7 separate regions of the Homo sapiens genome follow, and all the other regions are linked to region 1. The links are contacts of gene promoters, found by promoter capture Hi-C in human tissues and cell types (Jung and others, 2019). All regions are on one chromosome and are shown on one strand. The core of a region is centred on a gene start or on the middle of the fragment in contact, and the rest is flanking DNA. Distances in the headings are between cores, read along the strand shown.

Region 1 (3,222 bases), core at 342-2,841:
AACTTCATTCCCCCATGATGCAACACCAACAACAGACTTCAAAAATAGACTTTGCTGCAATGAGATGGAATCTGTGGCATCCCCTTGTAATATGGAGGTGGATGAAAAGTTTCCTTCAAAAATGTCACTTTGCAGAGTGGGCTGTCTTGAAATCAGCCCAGAATTTCTCTTTAAGGAAAACTATGGGGGAGATTTGCTGTCTGTGGTCAGTGGCATCACGGGCTATTGATAATTAAGAATTAACTTGAGCAATTGCTGTGGTTAAACACAAGAAACGTGCCTGTCTGCCTTCCTTCCTTTCCCTTCCCTTCCCTTCCCTTTCTTCCCTTCTTCTCCTTCTTTCCTTCTCAAATATTTAGGTTAAATATGATTTAGGAGCATAATTCTATATATTTAAAAACATATTAAATTTTCCAAATATTGGTGTGACTAGAATATTAATTTCTATCAAATGAGGAAAGTGCTACAGAGAAAAATTATATCTCTAGTGTCATTCAAAGGAGAGTAATCTTGGAGGCTTAAATCTTATTTTTAACTGGAATGCATTCTTATTAAATAGTAGCAATTATAATATAAATGAAATTTTGTATTTGTTTTTCTTTTTTTAGTATTGCATCAGGACTCCCTTCACCTATCCTCATCCTTCAATTTTGTGACATAAGTCCTGTACTTACAAACCATCTTGAGTCTTTTTTCCCACGTTATGCTCAAGCTGTTTTTATGTAGCTTGTCACCAATACTTATATTCATTTGCTGACGTTTGAAAAAAAATGAGTGATGCATGTGTTTTAAAGGCATTATAGTATTGATTGTGCTCTGCAAACACAGAAATTTTTGGATAAATATTGAAAAGTGATTGACTTTAAAGTCAGCTTTTTAAAAGCTATAGATACCATGATTATCTGTAGCTTTTCTTTTCTTAAAAACCATTAAGTTATTTCATGAAACAATGTAATTGAAAACATGTGATGAACATTCCTAAATATACATATGATTTACCATAAACATTTTCTTTCCTTAAGTTGAAAAAAATTACATTTAGTATTAATGTAAAGCAATATTGAAAATAAATGTAAAATCATATTAATGTGGAAAGATGATTATATAGCCTATTTCAAGGTCTTTCACCAACATAGTTTGTTATGTTTATTTTTTTAATTAAATATATTTTTTTAATAGAGACGGGGTCTCACTATGGTGCTCCTGGGCACAACTGATCCTCCTGCCTTGGCCTCCCAAAGTGTTGGAGTTACAGGCGTGGGCCATTGCGCCCAGCCTGTATTATTAAAATGAAATGATTTTTGAAATGCAGTACATAAAGCATTACTTTTGACAATAATCATGAAGTTAATTAAATGCTGCTTACCTCCTGTCCATCAAAAGTCTGTGTGAGAGATGAGCATTTTTCAGCACTTCCACTTCTGTCGAAGGGATATCTTTGAGTTGCTTCTGTTAAAATAGCTCTTTCTGGAAACAGTGTATTTAAGAAATGTTGTATTTTGTTTTAGACTCTTTTGTTGCTTTAAAAAGTAGTTTCCAGTGTAACGCTTGGCGTCGGAGTTGGTGCTGGGCTGACTTTAATTGCTGCTTTGTCTCTTTCAGGAAGTGCTCTCTGAAATAGGCTTTTTCACCTTATGACTTTACCCTGGATGTGGTTTTTCTCTTTCACAAATGATTTGTTTATGAAGTCACACTTAGCATAAGCTCCCCTTGAAATGATGGCATATATTTAAGATAATTATATACAAAGGATAAAGTTTCTTCAGTTTGTGTACTTTGATGCTTGAAGTCTGCATCATCTATGGAAAGAGAAGATTTGATATTGAGTAAAAGGGGGTTTAAAGTCTAGCTTCTTTGCTTTATAAGCTATGTGACTTTGTCTAGTTACCTACCCACTCTGACTAACCCTTTGTTCCTACTTCATTTCTGTACAGTTGAAATAGAGATAATACTATATCCAGTAGGATTGTAGGGGCCCTAAACCAGAAAGATCCCAAGTGCTTAATAGTACCTGGCACTTAGTAGGTACTCCTAAATGGAGTCTCACTTTTTACTACCAAGTTATTAAAAATCATAGAATATCCACATTTCCACTTTTTACTATTTAAACATTTCTAAATGCTTAAAAGTAGGATCCTTGATTAATTGCTTCTGCTTTGCCACATACATTTATCCACTTTAGTTTGCTGTATTTTGTAAGTCTGCTTTTCTAGTGCGTGGAAGTCTAGAAATAATTTCTTTTGCATAAAAATTTCTGCAAATCTTAGCAGAAAGGACTCTGAAGTCTTTAGTGGACTGATTTACATATTAAGAGTGTTTTCACCTAAGAAGGGAAATGAAACCAGCAGAAAGGGAAGTGAGCAACGAATCGCTGCCTGCCTTGTTAGGTTAATTTTGTTTTACTTTCTCATTTCTTAAAAAAAATTATCTCTCATTTGCTTATCCTAAAATTTTAATTATCTTTATGTTTGGTTATGCATGGTTTGTCAACTTTTTAAAGGGTTCATGAACTTAAATGTATTTGTTTTTTTGAATTTTAGACAGTTTGGGGTCCATCCTTTTTTTTTTTTTTCTCAGACAAAACCATAGTAAATCTGTGGCTTAGAAAAGTTACTTAAATCCTTGCCTTTGGTGATAAAATACTTTTGATTGTTACAACCTGCCAGAATGATGGGTTTTAGAAGTGTTGGAGACAACCATAGCAACTATTTCTTGTGTGGATGAAGAAATTGAAGGCCAGTTACTTGCTTAAGAACTCAAGGTAAAGCCAGGTCCAGTTTCTCCCGCTGTAATAACTTCTTATGAGGTAATTATATTGATCTGTCCACTAGATAGGACTTCTTATGGCTGAATCACATTCATCAGTTTTTTATATGTGATGTTATATTTCATTCATCACACAGGAGTTTGATGTTTCAGCTGGACAGAAATCTGCCTGCATGCAGACCTAATCTGTCCTTTGCCTTATTCACATAGCTTAGGACTTTTCTAAAATTAAGTATTGATTAGCTTCCCCATTGCTGCTAAAATCAACAGATACATTGATGGCATGTGTCTAGAAGAGTCCTTTCATCAAGACTTGAATTCTTCACGGTGCACAGGGGCATTCTTGTTTCTGAATTGCCAGACTCTTAGAGGAGGCATCCAGGAGCACCTGAGGGCTCTCCATAGGCCTGGCTTCAGGTTGGGGTGAGCTCTCACTTTTTCCTCATCTTGCTCTCC
Region 2 (3,222 bases), core at 188-2,687, 240 kb before region 1:
TATCGTTTTTCTAGCTGATTGCTTCACTCTTAATACCAAAGAACAAATAAGCAGGAGATTTACATGTGGCTCTACTGGAAAACTGCCGGCTCCTGTGATTTGCTTGGGATTGTTCTGAATCTCAGAACCTGCCCAAAATGAAAAAGACAGTGCCAGACAGCCACACTGCTGCAGATGCTGCTGGGAGGCACAAAGAATGTTCATCTGCTGCAAGAAATCGCTCTCCCAGAATGCTTAGCCTAGCATCTATATTAGCAAACATCTCTTTCCTTGACCTAAATATGCTGTTTATTTAATCCTGCATCAGCGGGAAACAGAGAAGCAAAGGAAAAAAAAAAGTCCAAAAAACGAGTGAAATCTCTAAGATGACTGCTGCTATGGAAACACATGCAAGCCCACTTCAAACAATCTTTTGCACGTATGGATAACAGCTTGCTGACAGCAAACCACAAGGGAACACAACATTGCTGTGTCGATCTTGACTTCAGCCCACCTCTACTCTTTGCTAGAGAGGGCTAGCAAGATTGCACTGCTTAAAAGGATTCTCCCGTCTCTGGTACCCAAAGATGCAAATGAGAACATGAATAAAGGGCTACCCAGTCTGGCTAGATGCATGCCTTCTGAAGCAGCACTCCAGTATGCAATGGGAAATACATGCTGAGGTCTCACAGTCAGCATGATTATGTTTGGTGTGTAAGTAATCCAACTCCTTCTACTGTAGACTGAACTCAGTGACACTACACTACCTCACGTGAATCTCTGGGAATGGCTAACAGGGAAGCTTGTCAATGATATGATACCAAGTTGACTCTTGCCATTTTCCTTCTTCAACAATGAAAGGCTAACTATATAAAAAGACCATGCTGCACATACAGGAAAACTTTTCCCAGCCACAATATGTAACTAGGAAAAAAGTGATCAATCTTTTAAAATCTGCTCTGATATTATTCCTTATTTCACAAGGCAACAGATAATTTCATTTCTCTCTATAGATGTGAAAGTTAGAGTGAATTAACTGACTGAGTACCTGGGGGCTGTGTAAACCCACGCATGTAGTAAAATCATACCTGTAGGGAATACCATCCGGGCACGTGATCCCATAATGTCTGTTTTCTATGAGTAGTTTAGCCATTGGGCCCCACAGAAAACCAAAAATCTAGGCTTATTCTCTCTCCTGTATTTTTATGCAAAGTGTGTCTGATAGCTGTACAAGATCAAAGATGGGGAGATGTTGGCCACATGCAAAAAACAGGATGACCCTCTGGGGTCTAGAGCATTCCACTTCCAAAGGGTGATTCTGTGAAAACAGAGCTATAGGGTTCAAGATTACACCCAAGTTGTGACACTAGGAGAATCTTCATGCGAAATCACAATGCTGACAGATAAACAACTAGAAACTCACCTACCCAGAAACTGAATATTGGAGACTATAAAACACTAAACACATAAGTTAAATGTCAGTTTTGAGAATTCAGAAAATCTACCAATTAACCTGACTCCTATACAGCAAGAGAAATAGCTTTAAAAGCAATAGTTCATTCAACAGAAATAAAGAGAGTACCTGGAAATGTAAAATTAATTTGTTATTGTTATGACATATTTTAGACATCCTGCCTGCAGAAGCCAGGGAATATTATTTGAGATACAAAAGATTACGTTTGAACTTTACCGAGAATTAGAAATAACCAAGCAAATTGGAAGCTGCTGGTATATGCTGTTTGATTTACTTTTAGAACCCTCCATTCGTGTTTAAAACAAGAGTCTAAATCAGGAGTGTCCAATCTTTTGACTTCCCTGGACCACACTGGAAGAAGAATAATTGTCTCGGGCCACACATAAAATATACTAACACTAATGATAGCTGATGAGCTTTAAAAAAAATCACAAAAAATCTCATAATGTTTTAAGAAAGTTTACGAATTTTTGTTGGGCCACATTCAAAGCCAGCCTGGGCCACATGTGGCCTGAGGGCTGCGGGTAGGACAAGCTTGGTCTAAATGGTCTCACCACAAAAAAATAAAGAAAAAAGGTAACTAAGTGAGGTAATAGGTGTGTTAGCTAACTCAATTGTGGTAATCATTTCACAACATATATCATCATATTGTATACCTTAAATTTATACAATTTTGCCAATCATATCTCAATAAAGCTAAAAAAGATAAATAAAAGTAAAAGCTAAATTTTAAAAAAACAATAAGAGAGAATGAAACAATTTCCTAACTCATTCAAAGGAAAAAGCAATGTTTTCTGGAGATAAATTAATAAAATGTTACAGTTTGAATGTGTCCCCCAAAGTTCATGAGTTAGAAACTTAATCTTCAATGGACAGTGCTGGGAAGTGGGACCTTCCAGTAGTGATTAGGGCAGAGCCTCACTGATTAATGGTGTTCTCAAGAGTGGGTTTCTAATAAAAGAATGAGGTCAGTCCCCTTTCTCTCTCTCACTCTTGCATGTTCTCTTTTCCTTCCACCTTTCACCTTCCACCACAGGATGATGTGGTATGAAGACCCTTACCAGCTGCTGCTGCCATGCTCTTACATCTTCCAGACTCTAGAATAGTGGGACGAATAAATTTCTGTTCATTACAAATTACCCTGTTTGTGGTATTCTGTTATAGCAGCAGAAAATGGACCAAGACATATACACATTGAAGCAACTTGTGCCAAATTTTAAGTATTAGTCATTTTCCAACCAACAAAATTAGTGGGCTCTTGAAAAGCAACAGAAAATATTTAGAGTGAAGTATTCAGAAACAGGTCTCATGATAATAGAAGCAAGACAAAATGAGTAATTCAAAAGGTATGTTTGGTTTCACTGACTTTTCTGTATCAGAATGAACTTGAGTTGTTCTAAATTGAAAATTACCATGAATTTCATCAGAGGACATGAATAGATGGATGGTATCTATTGGCAACCAGTGTAGCCACCTAAAAGAGTATATATTTCAATTTGGAGATCACATTTACTCTCCCATCTTTAAATGTCACTTCTAATTTATACAGCTCCTAAGACTAAATGTCTGCCTTTGAATCCCTTTTGAGATGCAGGCCCAGGTCTTCCTCTCCTGCTAATACTGACACCTGACTCTCCTACCATCTCACCCTCAGATGTTCCAAATGAATCATCCTTTAAAATGACAAACTCATATGGCACATCCACACAATGGAGTATCATTCAATCACAGGCAGGAACAAAGTACTGATGCATGCCACTACACGAATG
Region 3 (3,222 bases), core at 396-2,895, 250 kb after region 1:
ATTCCAGGATAAAATCCACAGTTCTAATTTAGTTTGTAAAAGTTTTGACTATTTCAGTTAGCTTTGTGCTTTTTAGCTTTAAATCAAATCTTAGTGTGCCGAGTGGCATTCTGATGGCTAAGAGGTGAAGATTAGTGAGCAGTTCACCTTTGCTGCTTTCAACTTTCAAGTAATTACTGGGTTGTCAACCAGAATTCAGAACTAAGAACTAAAAATAGTATTAATTCTCCAAAATGTCTGCCACTTTTTTACTGTTTGATGGATAGATCACGTTCTTAGATGAAAGATTAAGATTTTTTTTCCTTTGCTGTAAGGAAAAATGACCAATTATACCCCCTAGTGGTTAAAAACAATGTTTAAATGAATTAGTTTAACAACTTTTTAATAAAAAGGAAAATTACTCAGTCATACTTTCCTTTCTTGGTAGTTATTTTTAGAAGCATTTTATAAGTTGTGTTTGTTATTCTGGGAGCAGTTGTGTATAAATATTGGAATGAGTCAGCTTTAAGAAAATAGTCCTGAATGTTGATCTGAACGGACACAGAATGAATATATATGTACCTGTTTTAATTTGACCATAGAAGTAGTTTGAAGATTTTGAAATACTTAAAGAAAAAAAATCTGTATGTGTATTTATTGGTATAGTGATAAATATTTATCGATATGTAGTTTCACATTCTCACAGTTCTCTCTGGAATAAGAGCATTGATTCTTAGCTTCTGGGAACTCATTAGTGTTTGGGTGTTGCTCTTTCAAATCTGAAATCTGGCACTGGAAGGACTTACTTTGACTATGGTAAATATACATTCCAGCAATTGTTTCTTCTTCTTCTGAAAAGGTATGTTAAACTGAGATAGTTTGCCTTTCAGAAATTAGATTTTTAAGTAAAATTAAGACTGTAATTGTTCATTATAGTGAATCTGAGAGTTAGAATCAAGAAAGCAACAAAAGTCTATGAATAAAATTGTGTCTTTCTGCCTGTGGCCCCTCACCAAAGTGGGTGTAAACTTGAACTTCCAAAGGTGTAAACTGGAACGTCTGAAACAAATCACAGATATATGTTCCACACCTCACACCCCCAACACAAACACACAGACACACATCGGCACTACAGAGATTGGTCTGTGCACTGTCAGCCTTAGAGCCCAGCTGCCCAAACCCTTACTTCCCTATTCTCTCCTGTAGCTTCCTGTCACCATGGTCTCTCAGTAAGTTTTGTAGTTAATTTTAGCTGCTTTACATGTATCCAACAATTTCATTCTATTTTCATTAAAATTAACTATCTATGAAAGGCTTTGGAGGAAATTTGTGAATTTTTTCTCTTTTTGCTCCTCTTCTCACTTTTCAAACCTGTTTATTGCCCTTTGCTAATAATAATGGTAAAGACTACGATTTGTGTGTGTTGTATATGCCTTAGCTAAATTTCATAACATCTCTGTGATATTTAGATGAGGAAACAGAAGCTCAATAAGATTTAGTAGCTGTCTCAAGTGTACAAAGCTAGTAAGTATTAAAGCCAGAATGCAAACAAGCCCAAGACTGAGTCCAAAAAGCCTAGGCTCTTCGCCACTGCCTTCTACTCTGAGCACTCTTCTTCTTGTTTGCCTTTCCCCTGGGGATCCCTGACCGCTTATCACCCTGGACTTTGACAGTTCCAGAAAACACTCTGTATCTATTATATGTAATTTTCATTTTATTTTATTTTTTAGAAACAGTCTTGCTCTGTCACCCAGGCTAGAGTGCAGTGGTGCAGTCATAACTCATTGCAGCTTTGATGTGTCTGTGTAATTTTTAAGTAGTCAGGTTTTATATTTACTTCTTTCGTTGATATAGTCTAAAATTGAAATTGTATTTTTCAGGGCTTTGGGGAAAGAACCCTGGTAATTATCTAGGAGATCAGTTGCTGGGCATTGCTGATCGGATAACTCAGAGCTCATAAATAAGCATTTGTGAGTCCCAGCATTGCTTTTGAGACTTTTATTGTGCCTGAGTTAAGACTTCCCTTCTTCAGGAAGGCGCCACTGTGGACTGCTCTAATATTAAGGAGTTGAAGCTTCCATAGATTTCCTTTTTTATGGCCTCCATATCTCAAACCCTTTTGTGACTTGTCATTTGCCATGACCCTTGTACAGTCACATCTCTTCACTGAAATTTCTTTCTCCCTTGAAAATCCAGTTGTAAGTGTGGGGTGGGACAGATGTGATGATAGCAGAATAAGGTGGGAATAAAAGCAGAAACGAACTAGGAAATGGGAAAAAGTGTAGTCCTGTGGCATGGCCCGTGTGCCTTGTTAAAACAAAAAAATAGACTAGTTGTGACCATAGCTGGGATCAGGTATGGAACTGGCAGATTAGGACTAGAAATAAAATTGTACATTTAGGAGAGAAATTTAAAAGGAAGACTGTAGAGTTCTAAATAAAACCACTTCTATAAAACATTTCATAGTACAGGATTGTAATCAGTCTTGCTTTCTCTAAGTGACATAGGATTCTGCAACTTCCTTAAAATGTTTCATGTTGTCAAAATTTTGCATGCTTGAAATAACCTAGGTGGGGACAGTTTGAAAGTGGGAATGTGAAGCAAGTAAACCTTGAAGTTCTTTCTAGTCACATCAGTGATAATCTAGAGTCATCTGTCTCTATTTAAGGCAAATTTCTGGGAGGAGATGGACTTAACTCTTTTGGATGGTGAATAAAGATGTTTAGAGTGGGAAAAAAAAGGCAAACAAAACACACACACACACACACACACACACACACACACACACACCCCAGAGATTCAGTAGCTACTCCAAGAACATATAAATAAGTGCTGTCATTTTTTTTTTAATATATGCTGTATTAGGCTGTTCTTGTGTTGCTGTAAAGAAATACCTGAGACTGGGTAATTTATAAAGAAAAGATGTTTAATTGGCCCACAGTTCTGCAGGCTGTACAAGCATGGCACGGACATCGCTCGACTTCTAGTGGGAACCTCAGGAAATTTTTACTCATGGCAGAAGGTGAAGCAGGAGCAGGCATGTCACATGGTAAAAGCAGGAGTGAAAGAGTTTTCTGTTGAGCGAGATGCCACACTTTACAACAAGCAGATCTCACAAGGACTCACTCACCATCATGAGGGCAGCACCAAGGGAGTGGTGCCAACCCATTCATTAGACATCTACCCCCATGATCTAGTCACCTCCCACCAGGCCCTACCTCCAGCATTAGGGATTACAGCTTG
Region 4 (3,222 bases), core at 317-2,816, 230 kb after region 1:
TAGGGTCTGTTGGGATGGCACCCTGAGGGATGCGGCTTTGGTTCTTTATCAGCCTTTCTGTTCCCTTGTGCTATAGGGGTTAAGTCCCTTTGATACCCCAACAATTAATTAGAGCTACGGCCTTTGGCAAGTGTATTGCTTCCAATAGCTGAAGAATTTCAGGCCCAGGCTTTATAGAGGACTGTTTTCTAGTTAGAAATCCCTTTTCTTTCCAGACTGTAGCATGAACATGAACCACAAGGAATGCATATTTAGAATCGATATAGATGTTAAGCTTTTTTCCTTGTACCAACATTAATGCTCAAGTAAGAGCAATGATTTCAGCCTTTTGTGCTGATGTGCCAAGGAGCAGTGGCTGGGCTTCGATAATTACTACTGCATATCCAGCTCAGTGCTGTGTCAAACCCCATTTGACACAAAACTACTGCCATCTGTGAACCACTCATCCTCAGAATCTGGGAGAGGCTTGTCTTTTAAAGCAGGCTGGCTAACATTGTGTATGTGCAATGACCTGCTTGCAGGAATGATCAGTTATTGGGCCTGTGGGCAGCACTGAAGCTGGATTCAAAGTGTTGCAGGTTTTAAGGGTTACATCTGGATTGTCTAGGAACATGGCCTGGTATTTGGTTCATCTTTCCCCTGTCATCCAGATGTGTCCCTTTATCTCTAAGACAGACTTAACCTGATGAGGGGGTGAGAACTTCCAGTGGTTGGCTCAGAGCGATTTCAGTGGCTTCCTCCACTAACATAGCAGTGGCTGCTGTTGGCCGCAGGCAACTTGGTCACCTCGAGGCCACTCCATCCAACTTCTTTGGAAAGTCAGTGGTTAGTCTGGGTTCTGATCCTAATGTCTGGGCTAGTACACCCACAGCTATGCCCTTCTTCTCTGCTACGTACAAAGAGAAGGGCTTAGGTAGGTCTGGGATGCCAAGAGCGAGAGCCTGTTTTAACTTGGCAAAGGCTTTTCTCAATTCTGGGGTTCATTCCTTTAGCTCGTCTTCAGGCCCCTTTGTTGCTTCATATAGGGGCTTTGCTATGAGTCTGAAATTTGGTACCCATATTCTGCAAAACCTGGCCATTCCCAAAAAAGAACAAAGCTGCTACTAGGTGTGGCAGGTGGGGGGGTTGGGGAGGGGGCAGGGGGCAAACCACCTATGGCTTGCTCTCGTTCTGGGGATATTTGTCAGGCTCTGGGTGTTAAGACATACCCTAAATATTGCACCCATTGGAGGATAATCTGTGCCTTCTTGTCGGACACTTTGTATCCCCTGTCTGCCAGGAAATTCAAAGTTTTTATAGTAGTTTGGTCAGAAACCTCCTGGGTTTGGGCTACACACAAGAAAGTCATCCACATACTGGAGTATATTCCCATTTTTCACTTTCAGATCCTTCAGATCCCTCTCTAAGGCTCGGGCAATCCAATGGGGGCTATCCTGAATGCCCTAAGGGTGCACTGTCCAGGTATATTACTGTTTTTCCCTCATATTGATTTTCCCATTCAAAGGCAAAAAGGTATTGGGACTCTGGGGCCAGAGGGATGGAGAAGAAAGCATCTTTTAGGTCCAGGACTGAGAACCATTTTGCATCCCCTTGTACCTGAGCCATAAGGGTATATGGATCTGCCACCAGTGGGTGGACGGGGATAACAGCCTCATTAATTATTCTCAGGTCCTATACTAACCGGTATTCTCCAGTCCTATACTAACTGGTATTCCCCCAAAGGCTTTAGAACAGGTATTGCAAGGGGAATTACAGGATTTTAAGAGCCCATGTAATAAGTAATACCTCAATTATGGGTGCTAGGCCTTTTCTTGCTTCCTGCTTAATTGGATATTATTTTCAATTGGGAAACTAGCTGAGGTCTTTAAAATGTATTTTGACTGGCACTGCTGTTTTAGCCTTCCCTGGTTTTCCAGTATACCAATGCCAGCGGGTTAACCTATTTATTAATGTGGTCTGGAACACTGTATTTTTGACTATCAGCAATTTCAATGGGTGATGCTTAAATTGTAGTAGTGCCTCCATTTTAACCATAATATCTCTTCCCAACAGGGGGATTGGGCAGCTTGGTACTACTAGGAAATCCTGTTGGAAGAGTTGTTTCTCAAATTGACAAATCAAAGGAGGAGTAATGAATCTTGTTTGTCAACCCCATCAAAAAGTAGGCAAAGGATATGAACAGACACTTCTCAAAAGAAGACATTTATGCAGCCAACAAACATATGAAAAAATGCTCATCACTTGTTGTTAGAGAAATGCAAATCAAAATCACAGTGAGATACCATCTCACACCAGTTAGAATGGTGATCATTAAAAAGTCAGGAAACAGGCTGGTGAGGCTGTGGAGAAGTAGGAACATTTTTACACTGTTGGTGGGAGTGTAAATTAGTTCAACCATTGTGGAAGACAGTGTGGTGATTCCTCAGGGATCTAGAACCAGAAATACCATTTGACCCAGCAATCCCATTACTGGATATATACCCAAAGGATTATAAATCATTCTATTATAAAGATACATGCACATGTATGTTTACTGCAACACTATTTACCATGGCAAAGACTTGGAACCAACCCAAATGCCCATCAGTGATAGACGGGATAAAGAAAATATGGCACATATACACCATGGAATACTACGCAACCATAAAAAAGAATGAGTTCATGTCCTTTGCAGGAACATGGATGAAGCTGGAAACCATCATTCTCAGCAAACTAACACAGGAACAGAAAACCAAACACCGCATGTTCTCACTAATAAGTGGGAGGTGAACAATGAGAACACATGGACACAGGGAGGGGAACATCACACACCAAGGCCTGTTGGGGGGTTGGGGGCAAGGGGAGGAAGAGCATTAGGACAAATACCTAATCCATGTGGGACTTAAAACCTAGATGATGGGTCGATAGGTGCAGCAAACCACCATGGCACATGTATACCTATGTAACAAACCTGCACATTCTGCATATGTATCCCAGAACTTAAAGTAAAATAAAATAAAATAAAATAAAATAAAAACTCGTTTGTGGCTTCCATTCTATTCCCATAACACTTGTGGACTGGGAGGAACGCCTTACTGCATAAGCAGTAAGAACAGAGTAATTTGCTCCTGCATCAAAAAGAAACTGAATTTGGGTGCCCATGACGTCCAGAGTTACCTGGGGCTCCTCAGTAGTAATTACAATGTTCCTGAACAGGGGCAGTGAGGAAGACCTCAGGCCCCT
Region 5 (3,222 bases), core at 182-2,681, 220 kb before region 1:
TGTTAAAGAATAGTTCCTTGTTATGAAACCTTAAAATTCTAGGACATATGATGTTTTAAGACATCTGAGTACAGGTAGCAGATTTAAACATACATAGCCACCTTCCTATCTATCAGTTGAGAACTAAAAACTAAAAAGCATTTTGATAACATGTCTAATTTCTTATATAGCATATCATTCAGGCAGGACCAGTAGTAGAGAAGGCAAAAAACAAATATTCCACCTTAGTTCTAAAACAGAAAATCTGAATATGAAAGACAGATAAGATTACAAGATATGGGCTGCTCTGGAAGGATCAACCAGGACCAATAAGTAAAAACTCTAATAACCAGTGTTGCCCTAAAATAGGATAAACCATTTGTGAGGGAATGAAACTACTGCCCCAAGGAGGGGTTCATGCATGAGCGGGAATGCCCGTGGGTGACGGAAGTATCACAAAGGCAAATGAACTAATGCCGTCAACAAACCCTCCAGTCTTCAGTGGGATGGATTTTCCATGTTGTAGACACTGTCAGCGAGTGCAGTTTCAAGTCAGGCAAAATGGAAGCTCGTGCATCTTTGATCGCGCAGGTGGTCTAAAGGGATGGCACAGAGGCCCAATATACCTAACCTGTAGAAGGCACATCTCACATCTCACCTATTGCAACAGTGATAAAAGTGAGGACACTGAGGCTTAAAGACGGTTAAAGACCAAAGTCACAGAGAACTAAAGTGTCTGAACTAGGACTTCTACTCTCACATCCCCAGACTTCAGATTAGAATTCTTTCTACTCTACCATGATGGTTTTCTGTCAGGTCCCAGAAGAACCTCAAATGCTCCCTACATATAGATGTGCTGAGTAAATAAAAGTTTTATATTTAGAGAGGAAAAAATAGAGATCAAAATGCCTGGCCAACTTCAGGGGGTCTGTGACATGGCTCTGATATGAACACCATGTCTTTTCTTCCAACTTCTAATCATGAAATATATTCAAACCAGCTGCTCCATCTAGTGGATTAATGGAAGATCCTCAGGATGAGAGAAAAGCACATTTTTAATACTGTTCAGCTCACACAACCCTAAAGCATTCATCTGCTATCCCATACCTCATATCCAAAATAGCAACACTAGAAAAGAGATTATGAAGATTACAAGCTTTCAGGAGTCAAGGATGAATTCATTCCAACTGGTTAAAACCATATTCCAAATTTGCTTCCTCCCTCATTTCCCCAGTTTCCCCCAACATAAGTACAGAGTCGGCAAAGCAGGTCACATCACAAGTCACTGAGGTAACAGCTCTCCAGTAGCACACCCAAGAGGTGTAACTCCAAACTGAAGCTGAAGCTCCCAGAGATTCCACAGCCCCTTGATATACTGTGTTTACTAATCATCTTAAGCCTAAGACCTTCTTTCCAAAGAGAACAATATGTGGTGGGAAAAACCCAGGCTCAGAAGTCAGCCAAAATTCCTGGTTCTGTCAGTTTCTGACTGTTGTAACCTTGAGTCAATCATTAAACTTCTGCCTCAGCTCCTCATCTGCAAAACATGGATAATGGCACACCCCTCAGGGGTGCCATGAGGATGGAGAGGTGACAAAAAGAATGCACCTAACACATTCCTGAAACACCGCAGCACTCAACGAACAGCAGAGACAGATAGGTGGACCTGAGTAGGCTCCAATTTAAGGGCCCTTTATCTGTTTTCCTTAATCTTCAAATTTCTATTTTAAAAAGGTAACAAAAATGGTGAGCAGAGTTGTTAGAAGACATAGAGATGCGTAATAATAAGGAACAGTGAAGGAACTGTGATTCGGTGTGGCCAGAACACAGGCAGTAAAGGTGGATGCCAGGAGTTGAGGTGAAACAGACAGGCAGTTCCTTGTAAGCCATATGGATGCATTTGGATGTCATCCAGCAATCAATGTGGAACCACCGGATTATCTTCCCATTACCCCAATCTGTCATATTCTAACACTGCTCCAAAACTTTCACAGTCACCTACTTCCTAAAGAATGAAGTGGAACAGTCTTAACAAGGTGGGTTTCTGAATCTGTGTTTCTGTCTTCTGTCTCAGCTTCCCATTTGGTATGTCAACTTTCATGTGCAGGTTTGCTCAAGACACGTGCTTTAAGATGCAGAAGAAAGATCAAATTCAATAACATTAATTATGAAACTTAAGTTGTGTCACAACTCTCAATCTCTCAAATTTGAATGAGCAGATTTAATATTAGTAAACATTCTGAACTCCAATCAAATGTAATGCAACACAAAACATGAATGAACACTATCAGAGACTGATGAATACCTCCCTCACCCCAACATCTATCCTTCCCTTTTGATATAGTAATAGCAGTGCTGGTGGGCCTCTGGCTACCCAGCCAAAAACTACATTTCTCAGTCTCTCTTGCACTGAAGTGTGTCTACTGGATTGGGTTCCAGTTAATGGGATGGTTAAAGTTAAAGCTAATGGGACGTGTTAAGTGATACGTGCAATTTTAAAGTCATGCACTTAAATGGGAAGGAGTACACCATTCCCATACCATCTCCCTTTTCTGCTACAAGGAAGTACTATGTGGAAAATGGCAGAGCAACAAGATAGAAGGAGCCTGGGACCCCAAAATGGTAGAGTCATCAATCAACCCTGAACTGTTTACACTTGGACTAAGAGTAAACCTAACTTCCATCCTTTATAAGGCATTGTTTTTTGATCTTTGTTAAAGTATATCCTAACTGTGATGCTTTCTTTTATGTGTCAACTTGGCTAGGCCACAGTACCCAGATATTTGGTCAAATACATGTGGATACTTCTGCGAAGGTAATTTTTAGATGAGATTAACATTAAATCAATAGACTGAGTAAAACAGATTGCCCTCCATAATCTGGGAGGGCCTCATCCAAGCAGTTGAAGACCTTAAGAAAAGGACCGACCTTTCCTGTGGAAGAAGAAATTCGGACAACAGACTCACTTTGAACTCCAATTGCAACATCAGCTCTTCTCTGGGTCTCCAGCTTGTCAGCCTTCCAAGCCTGCCTGCCTGCCTACCCTAGCCTCGCAATTTTGGACTTTTAAGCCTCCATGATCGTTTAAGCCAATTCCTTAAAATAGAAAGAAACATATGGATACATGGATGTATAATACATACACACATACACATCTTATTGATTCTGTTTCACTAGAGAACCCTATTATACTGTTACAAACGGAATATTTGTGCTCCCTACCCCACCAAATTCTTATGTTGA
Region 6 (3,222 bases), core at 442-2,941, 200 kb after region 1:
AAACAGCATGGCTCAGTCATTTCTCTTTTCCTTCGCCACAACAAAATGACAAGTCTGATGGCTGCCCTTTCAGACTGAGTCCAGGAATGAAGAGGACACAGGAGCAGCACTGTCAGCAAGACATAGCCGATGTGTGGTCTGAGTGAGAAACAGATTTTTACAGTTAGAAGCTAATGAGATTTGGCGATGGAGAAACCCACTCGGAACCCCAGAGATGGTATAAAGATTATTTTAAGCAAAAGGCATTTCAGTTCAACAGTTAGAGAAAAAAAAAAAAAAAGCCTTCTTAGAGCTTCTCTTATCTGACTAAAAGCAGCAACTTCTGGAAAATAACGCTGTCATAAATGCTTCTTCAGGGTGGATCTACTTCAAGAAAAGAGACCGTGAATAAACCGACCCCAAATCCTCTCTCCAGGGAAGTTTCATTGTCCTGAAGGAGACATGAAAGAGGAGGCATATCACTCATAACTGTATAGAAAAACATTATCACAAACTTCCTTATCTCCTGTTTGTTCTCCTCAAAACCCATTTATCTTTTTTTTTTTTTTTTTGAGACAGGGTCTTGCTCTGTTGCCCAGGCTGAGTGCAGTGGCGTGATCACAGCTCACTGCAGCCTCAACCTCCCAGGCTCAAGCAATTCTCCCACCTCAGCCTCCCAAGTAGCTGGGACCACAGAAACGTGCCGCCATGCCTGGCTAATTTTTGTATTTTTTGTAAAGATGGGATTTCACTGTCTTACCCAGGCTGGTCTTGAACTCCTGGGCTCAAACGATCCTCCCATCTCAGCCTTCCAAAATGCTGGGATTACAGGAGTGAGCCACCACACCCAGCCCCATTTACCTCTCTGAAAAGTCGTTGTTTTCACATAAGTGCCTTTCTTTTCCTACTCATTCCCTTCTAAGGTGGTATGTAAGCCTGTCTATCCACTCCTTTGAGTTAGTCACTCACCGAAATCAGAGTTACGTACTGACTTCTGTGTGTATATGAATTACATGCATAAATAAACTCTCACGTTTTCCTCTTTTTAATCTGTCTTTGTCAGTTTAATTCACAGGCCTCAGGCATGGAACATGAAAGAATAGAGGAAAAAGTTTTCCTCTGCTACCAGAGCCATTTGTTATTACAGCAAACTGATACAAAAACTGGTGGGCCTGAATTTCCGCTTATGCTTGCTGAGAGAAATTTATGTTCTGAAATGGCCTTGGTCAGATGTTCCTCCAGCTTATAAATTAAATATGGGTAATGTTCTTTCCTTTCTGGTGAAGAACAAATAGGATGAACAAACTGTGTCTGTTGTGTTGGTATTAAGTCACAGTAATACATCTTCTTTTTCAGAAGATAAGTTATACATACTGCAGTAAGAAAAGACACTGGATAATATTTGGCAAATTTTGGGAGAAACTTCTCCATCTAAACATTATTCTTCCTTTGCAGTTTTAATGTTTCTGTTAAAGAATAAATAAGAAAGTGCTCATTAAATGTGCTTGAAACCCTCACTTAGAATTATGACTGGAAGTCCCATGGCCAATTGTAAGGGCCTAGGTTGGCAAAGAGAAATCAGTCCCTCCCCATGCCCTCCAGTTTTTAGGAGATGCGGTCTTGCTCTGCCTCATGCAAGAGGCTGTTCCCCCATGCTGTTCTCGTGATAGGGAGTGAGTTCTCACAAGATCTGAGGGCATTTTAGAGGGCTGTTTCCCCTTCGCTCAGCACTTCTCCTTCCTGCTGCCTTGTGAAAAAGGTGCCTGCTTCCCCTTCACCTTCTGTCATGATTGTAAGTTTCCTGAGGCCTCCCCAGCCATGCTGAACTGTGAGTCAATTAAAGCTCTTTCCTTTATACATTCCCCAGTCTCGGGCAGTTCTTTATAGCAGTATGAAAATGGACTAATACAGTGGGAGAATTGCTTGAGCCCAGAAGTTTGAGACCAGCCTGGGAACATGAAAAAACCCTGTCTCTACAAAAATTACAAAACTTAGCTGGGCATGGTGGCATGTGCCTGTAGTCTCAGCTATTTGGGATACTGATGCAAGAGTCTTGCTTGAGCCCAGGAGGTCAAAGCTACAATGAGCCATGATCACGCCACTACACTCCAGCCTGGGTGACAGAGAGAGACCCATGACTTGATGCTTGTTATGCCTGCGTGATGGGTACGTGGAGAGTTCTTGTATATTCTCCCAATTTATGTGTAATTTAAATCTTTCCATGAGAGAGAGAGAAAAAAAATAGGCCTATTTCAGAGAAGGGAGTCATCTGATTTGACAAATGTTTAAAACAACTGAGTAAACTTCTTAACTTACTGAACCTCAGTTTATTCATCTATGATATGGGATTAATGATAACTATTTCACTGAAGAGTATTTTAATAAGAGAGTGCAAGGACAATACCCCTTTGTCCACATAATAAATACCTGTTTGTAATGAGACTTTTTTGCTTTGGTTACTTAAATAACCCACTAAGTATTTGATATCTCCAGGTAGGAAGTCTGCTGTTGCAACTTGATTGCAATAAATCATTTGGATTTGGGCAGCTTGCTATTTTTAATATAAATATGTGATTGGCTCCTGGCTTAGTATTTTAAATGGCCAGTGGATATTTTTTCCTGGACATCTCCAGCCCATAGTTGTCTGCCTATTCTCTATGAATTTGTAACCCCAGCCCCGCTGCTTTGTAGACCTCTCTTTAGAAGGATAAGGGCCACACTCAGCCCTCTCATAAGAGGGAAGACCCAAAGGCCATCTCAGCAGCACAGCCCATGGACATCTGCATTGCTACATTGAAACTGCTGAGGTTCGCTGGTCAATGCAATGATCCTCCACTGACCAGAGGAGGGGGGACATGAGTTCCCTGAGGACCCCTGAATCCCTGTCCACCATCAGCATGCATGAGCAGGCTTTGGCTCCTGATGGTTAGAAGTTGTAACCTTTAACTGCCTTGTTTGGAAATGAATTCTTCCCATATTTTCCCACTGGCTCTTGGAAGGATGAAAAATCATTTTGAAGGGAAAGAACCTGCTTATAATTTCACTTTGCAACTAGAAATGTATTTCTTTACTCAGACAAATGCAGATAAATTGGGAAATAACTTATTGGGAAAGAACTTAATGCTGTTCTCAATCCATGTGCGTTTTCTTTCTGAGTTCTCTCAGGTGTTTAAGCTTTCAGAATATGTAGTGAAAGGTGGCTTATGCCTGTAATCCCAGCGCTTTGGGAGGCCGAGGTGGGCA
Region 7 (3,222 bases), core at 427-2,926, 180 kb after region 1:
GAAACAACAGAGAGAAGAGATAGCCTACAGAATAGGAAAAAATATTGTAAACCCATGCATCTGATAAGGGGTTAACATCCAAAATATATTCGGAACCCAAACAACTCAATAGTAAGAAAAGAAATAATATGATTTGAAAAATGGGCCAAGGACCTGAATAAACATTTATCAAAAGAAAGCATACAAATGGCCAACAGGTCTATGAAAAATTGTTCAACATCACTAATCATTAGAGCAATGCAAATTAAAGCCACAGGGAGCACCACCTCACACCTGTTAGAAAGGCTATTACCAAAGAGATGAAAGATGTGTTGGTGAGGATGTGGACAAAAAGGGAACCCTTGCACACTCTTGGTGGAAACGTAAATTTGTACAGCCATAATGGAAAGCAGTATGGAGGTTCCCAAAAAATGAAAAATAGAATGGATATGATCTGGCAATCTCACTACTAGGTATATATCCAAGGACAACAAAATCAGTATCTTGAAAAGATACCTGCATTCCCATATTTATTGCAGATACTTGTTGCCCTCTTCCAAGGGCTCTAGGGGAGGATCCTTCCTGACCTCCTCCAGCTAAGCTTGTGGCCACGTGGGCTTGTCACTCTGACCTCTACCTCATCTTCACATCACCTTCTCCTCTGTGTGTCCTCACATCTTCCTCTGCCTCTCTCTTAAAACAACTCTTGTGATGACATCCAGGGCTTATCTGGCAATAAGACGGGACGCTCTCCTCATCCAAAGGTCCTTAGTCACATCTGCAAAGACCTTTTCCCGAAATAAGGCCACATTTACAGGATCCATGGACTATGATGTGGACTTACCTTTGGGGAGCCATTTTTCAGCCTACCACGTGTGGGACGCAACAGACAAGCTGCGCTCGCTTGAGCTGAGACTTGTTGGAGCTGTTCACCCTCCCCAGGGCTGGAATCAGAGGTGAGGCTGACAGCACGAGGACAAGAGGCTTTTGACAGGACAAAGTGGGACAGAACTGTGCACCTTTGGCCAAAACAGCAGAACTGGCATGATAACCATGCAAGCAAGTCTCTGCAATGTGAAGGACTGCGCAAATGTTCCTACTCAAGTGCACCTACTCAAGTGTGGCACTGGCTTGATTCATTTCTGCAGGAGAGAGCCAGTTACCACTTACCAGTTCTGTCCAGGGAGGCATAATTAAGATAACCTGGGATTGACAGCTGCTACAGCTTCTTCTACACGGGTTTGCTTTTCACTCACCTTTGACGTTACTGGAATAATTGCAGCAGGTGCCTGCCTGGTCGTCAAATCTTGTCCCCAAAGGGCAAATCTGCCCGTGCTCCATCGTATCGGGGACATCAGTGGCTCCCAGTGCCCACCGTCCTTCTACAGTGCTACAGGGTAGCGCTTCTTTACACTGGCAACCCCTTAGTTTCTTAGTCCCCTGCTTATGGGAAGTGGGGATTTGAAGACACGAGGGGCAGAAAGACAGACTTTCATAGCATCGTAACACACTGCTGTTGAAAGTCAGTGAATATTAGACAGAGGAGGGTTTATGGTGCGAGATTCTCCACTCTGGGACACCGGAAGCTCTGAAGACTTCGGACCAGAGCAGCCCTTCCGTGATGGTGCTGGATCGACCCCTGTTCTGTGCTGGCTACGTAACCACTGGCTGAATGGATAAATGTATCAAAGACAAGCTAGTAACAGCATTCGTAATTCAAAAGTACTACCAAATTGTGATCAGCTTACTGCATATGGTTATGCATTGATGTCGTCCAAAATTCGGAAGGTGCAGAAGGATGCACGCCCCTCCCCCAGGTCTTGGTAGTGGCAACCAGTGTCACCAGCATCACGTGTATCCTCGCAGGATATCTTCTGCATCTATGAGCAAAAACGTGCACGCACCGCTGCTTTTTTCATTCTTGATAGCTTAGAAATCATTCCGTAGGAGGGAGGGGCATTCAGGATGCTACCCCAAAACATGTACCTTGGCATAGTGAATATTTTAAGCTGAAGGAATTTGAGAACTGGTAAGTAGAGAAAGGGTTCCCTGACTTTCCCCTGAAGCAGGTCAGGAGACCCTCATGTGAGAGGGAGACAGGGGGACCCCAGGAACAATCTGAATGCACAGACCTTGCTAACTTTCCCCCAGTTTACTACTCTTAGCTCATACCTTTTCTGTCCTACCACATTTTTCTATGACTCAGCATTCTATCAAATCAAGGCTAGAAACACTCAGGTTTAAGCATTTCTTCAGGTCCCTATTTCCTTATGAAGGCTCCCATGTCAGGTAACATTTAAATAAATTTGTATTCTTTTCTCTTGTTCATCTGTCTTTTGTTACAAGGGCCCCAGCTGAGAACCTAGAAGGGTAGAAGGAACATATTTTTCCCCCACCTACAGTAGTGTTTTAAAGGAATTCCTTTATTCTTTTTTTCTTTTACAGTTGCCTATTGTTTCACTGTATAGCTGTGCTATGTGGACATTTTGTTTCCAGCCTTTTGCAAGCCAAAGAGCAATTAATTACCTTTTCAAAATAATATTCATTCATGCAAGGGTATCTGCAACAAAAAGAAGTGGATTTTCAAAAGGTTTCAAAAGGTATGTGTATTTGCAATTTTGATAAATATTGCCAGAATGACTGCCAAAGAGGTTATACCAATTTACACCCTCCCCCTGCAAGAAATAAGAGTTGCCAACAGAGTATATTATCAAATGTTTTAATCTTTGCCAATCTAATAGATAAAAATGACATGAGTATAATTTTAATTTGTACTTTTCTTATGAGTAAGATTGCACATCTCTTTATATGTTTAAGACCCTTTTGTACCTTGTATCTGTGAGTAGGTAGGTCATTTCCTTTGACCATTTTGTTGTTGTTCTTTTTTTCTTATTGGTTTGTATCTAGAGCTCCTTATCTACTAGGGAAATTAAGCCTTTGCTGGAATATTTGTAGAATGAAGTAGAAATTACACAATGTTTAAGCATTTAAAATGTTTCTTCTCTCATTTTGTGTATAGTTAATTGTAATAGCATAATTGATTATGCAAGGTCGTTTTCTTATTTATTTCTGGAGATTAGATCAATCCATTGATTTTAAATGTGGTACACTTTCCCAAGTTTCATTTTTGCATGAGTTAAATCTTTTTGTGGTGCTTAACTTGCGTTCTCTGAGATTTTATTAATATTTTGGCTCATGCTGTTTCCACCACCTGACATATGTCCTGATGGGACCCATCCTCCC

Evidence for each region. The method cuts DNA at HindIII sites, captures the fragments that hold promoters and counts their contacts. A contact is called where the count stands out against the background at its distance.
Region 2: a contact is called between a fragment that was not itself captured here and the fragment with the promoter of GPR18 in region 1, in 3 of the 25 tissues and cell types used here (dorsolateral prefrontal cortex, spleen and thymus).
Region 3: a fragment that was not itself captured here is called in contact with the fragment with the promoter of GPR18 in region 1 in 2 of the 25 tissues and cell types used here (lymphoblastoid cells and spleen).
Region 4: a fragment that was not itself captured here is called in contact with the fragment with the promoter of GPR18 in region 1 in 3 of the 25 tissues and cell types used here (dorsolateral prefrontal cortex, lymphoblastoid cells and spleen).
Region 5: a fragment that was not itself captured here is called in contact with the fragment with the promoter of GPR18 in region 1 in 2 of the 25 tissues and cell types used here (bladder and dorsolateral prefrontal cortex).
Region 6: a fragment that was not itself captured here is called in contact with the fragment with the promoter of GPR18 in region 1 in 2 of the 25 tissues and cell types used here (lymphoblastoid cells and spleen).
Region 7: a contact is called between a fragment that was not itself captured here and the fragment with the promoter of GPR18 in region 1, in 8 of the 25 tissues and cell types used here (IMR-90 fibroblasts, heart right ventricle, liver and 5 more).

What each region holds. Positions count from the first base shown.
Region 1 is chr13:99,256,788-99,260,009 of GRCh38, forward strand. GPR18 (G protein-coupled receptor 18) reads right to left here and starts at 1,592. Exons shown (of 2, transcript NM_001098200.2): 1 at 1,367-1,592. All of the region lies in intron 4 of UBAC2 (UBA domain containing 2), which reads left to right. LOC124903198 (a long non-coding RNA gene) reads right to left here. Exons shown (of 3, transcript XR_007063846.1): 3 at 1,652-1,799. The HindIII fragment of the contact is 6,968 bases long and covers 1,579-3,222 here.
Region 2 is chr13:99,015,872-99,019,093 of GRCh38, forward strand. It overlaps a transcript of DOCK9 not described here. Among named protein-coding and RNA genes, the nearest start is that of DOCK9, 39 kb to the left of the region's middle. The HindIII fragment of the contact is 3,780 bases long and covers 1-3,222 here.
Region 3 is chr13:99,505,676-99,508,897 of GRCh38, forward strand. All of the region lies in intron 1 of TM9SF2 (transmembrane 9 superfamily member 2), which reads left to right. Among named protein-coding and RNA genes, the nearest start is that of TM9SF2, 5.8 kb to the left of the region's middle. The HindIII fragment of the contact is 3,611 bases long and covers 1-3,222 here.
Region 4 is chr13:99,489,287-99,492,508 of GRCh38, forward strand. All of the region lies in intron 4 of LINC01232 (long intergenic non-protein coding RNA 1232), which reads right to left. Among named protein-coding and RNA genes, the nearest start is that of LINC01232, 8.4 kb to the right of the region's middle. The HindIII fragment of the contact is 8,464 bases long and covers 1-3,222 here.
Region 5 is chr13:99,033,027-99,036,248 of GRCh38, forward strand. It overlaps a transcript of DOCK9 not described here. Among named protein-coding and RNA genes, the nearest start is that of DOCK9-DT, 52 kb to the right of the region's middle. The HindIII fragment of the contact is 7,887 bases long and covers 1-3,222 here.
Region 6 is chr13:99,459,319-99,462,540 of GRCh38, forward strand. No RefSeq gene overlaps it. Among named protein-coding and RNA genes, the nearest start is that of LNCARGI, 28 kb to the left of the region's middle. The HindIII fragment of the contact is 7,653 bases long and covers 1-3,222 here.
Region 7 is chr13:99,438,215-99,441,436 of GRCh38, forward strand. No RefSeq gene overlaps it. Among named protein-coding and RNA genes, the nearest start is that of LNCARGI, 7.1 kb to the left of the region's middle. The HindIII fragment of the contact is 6,232 bases long and covers 1-3,222 here.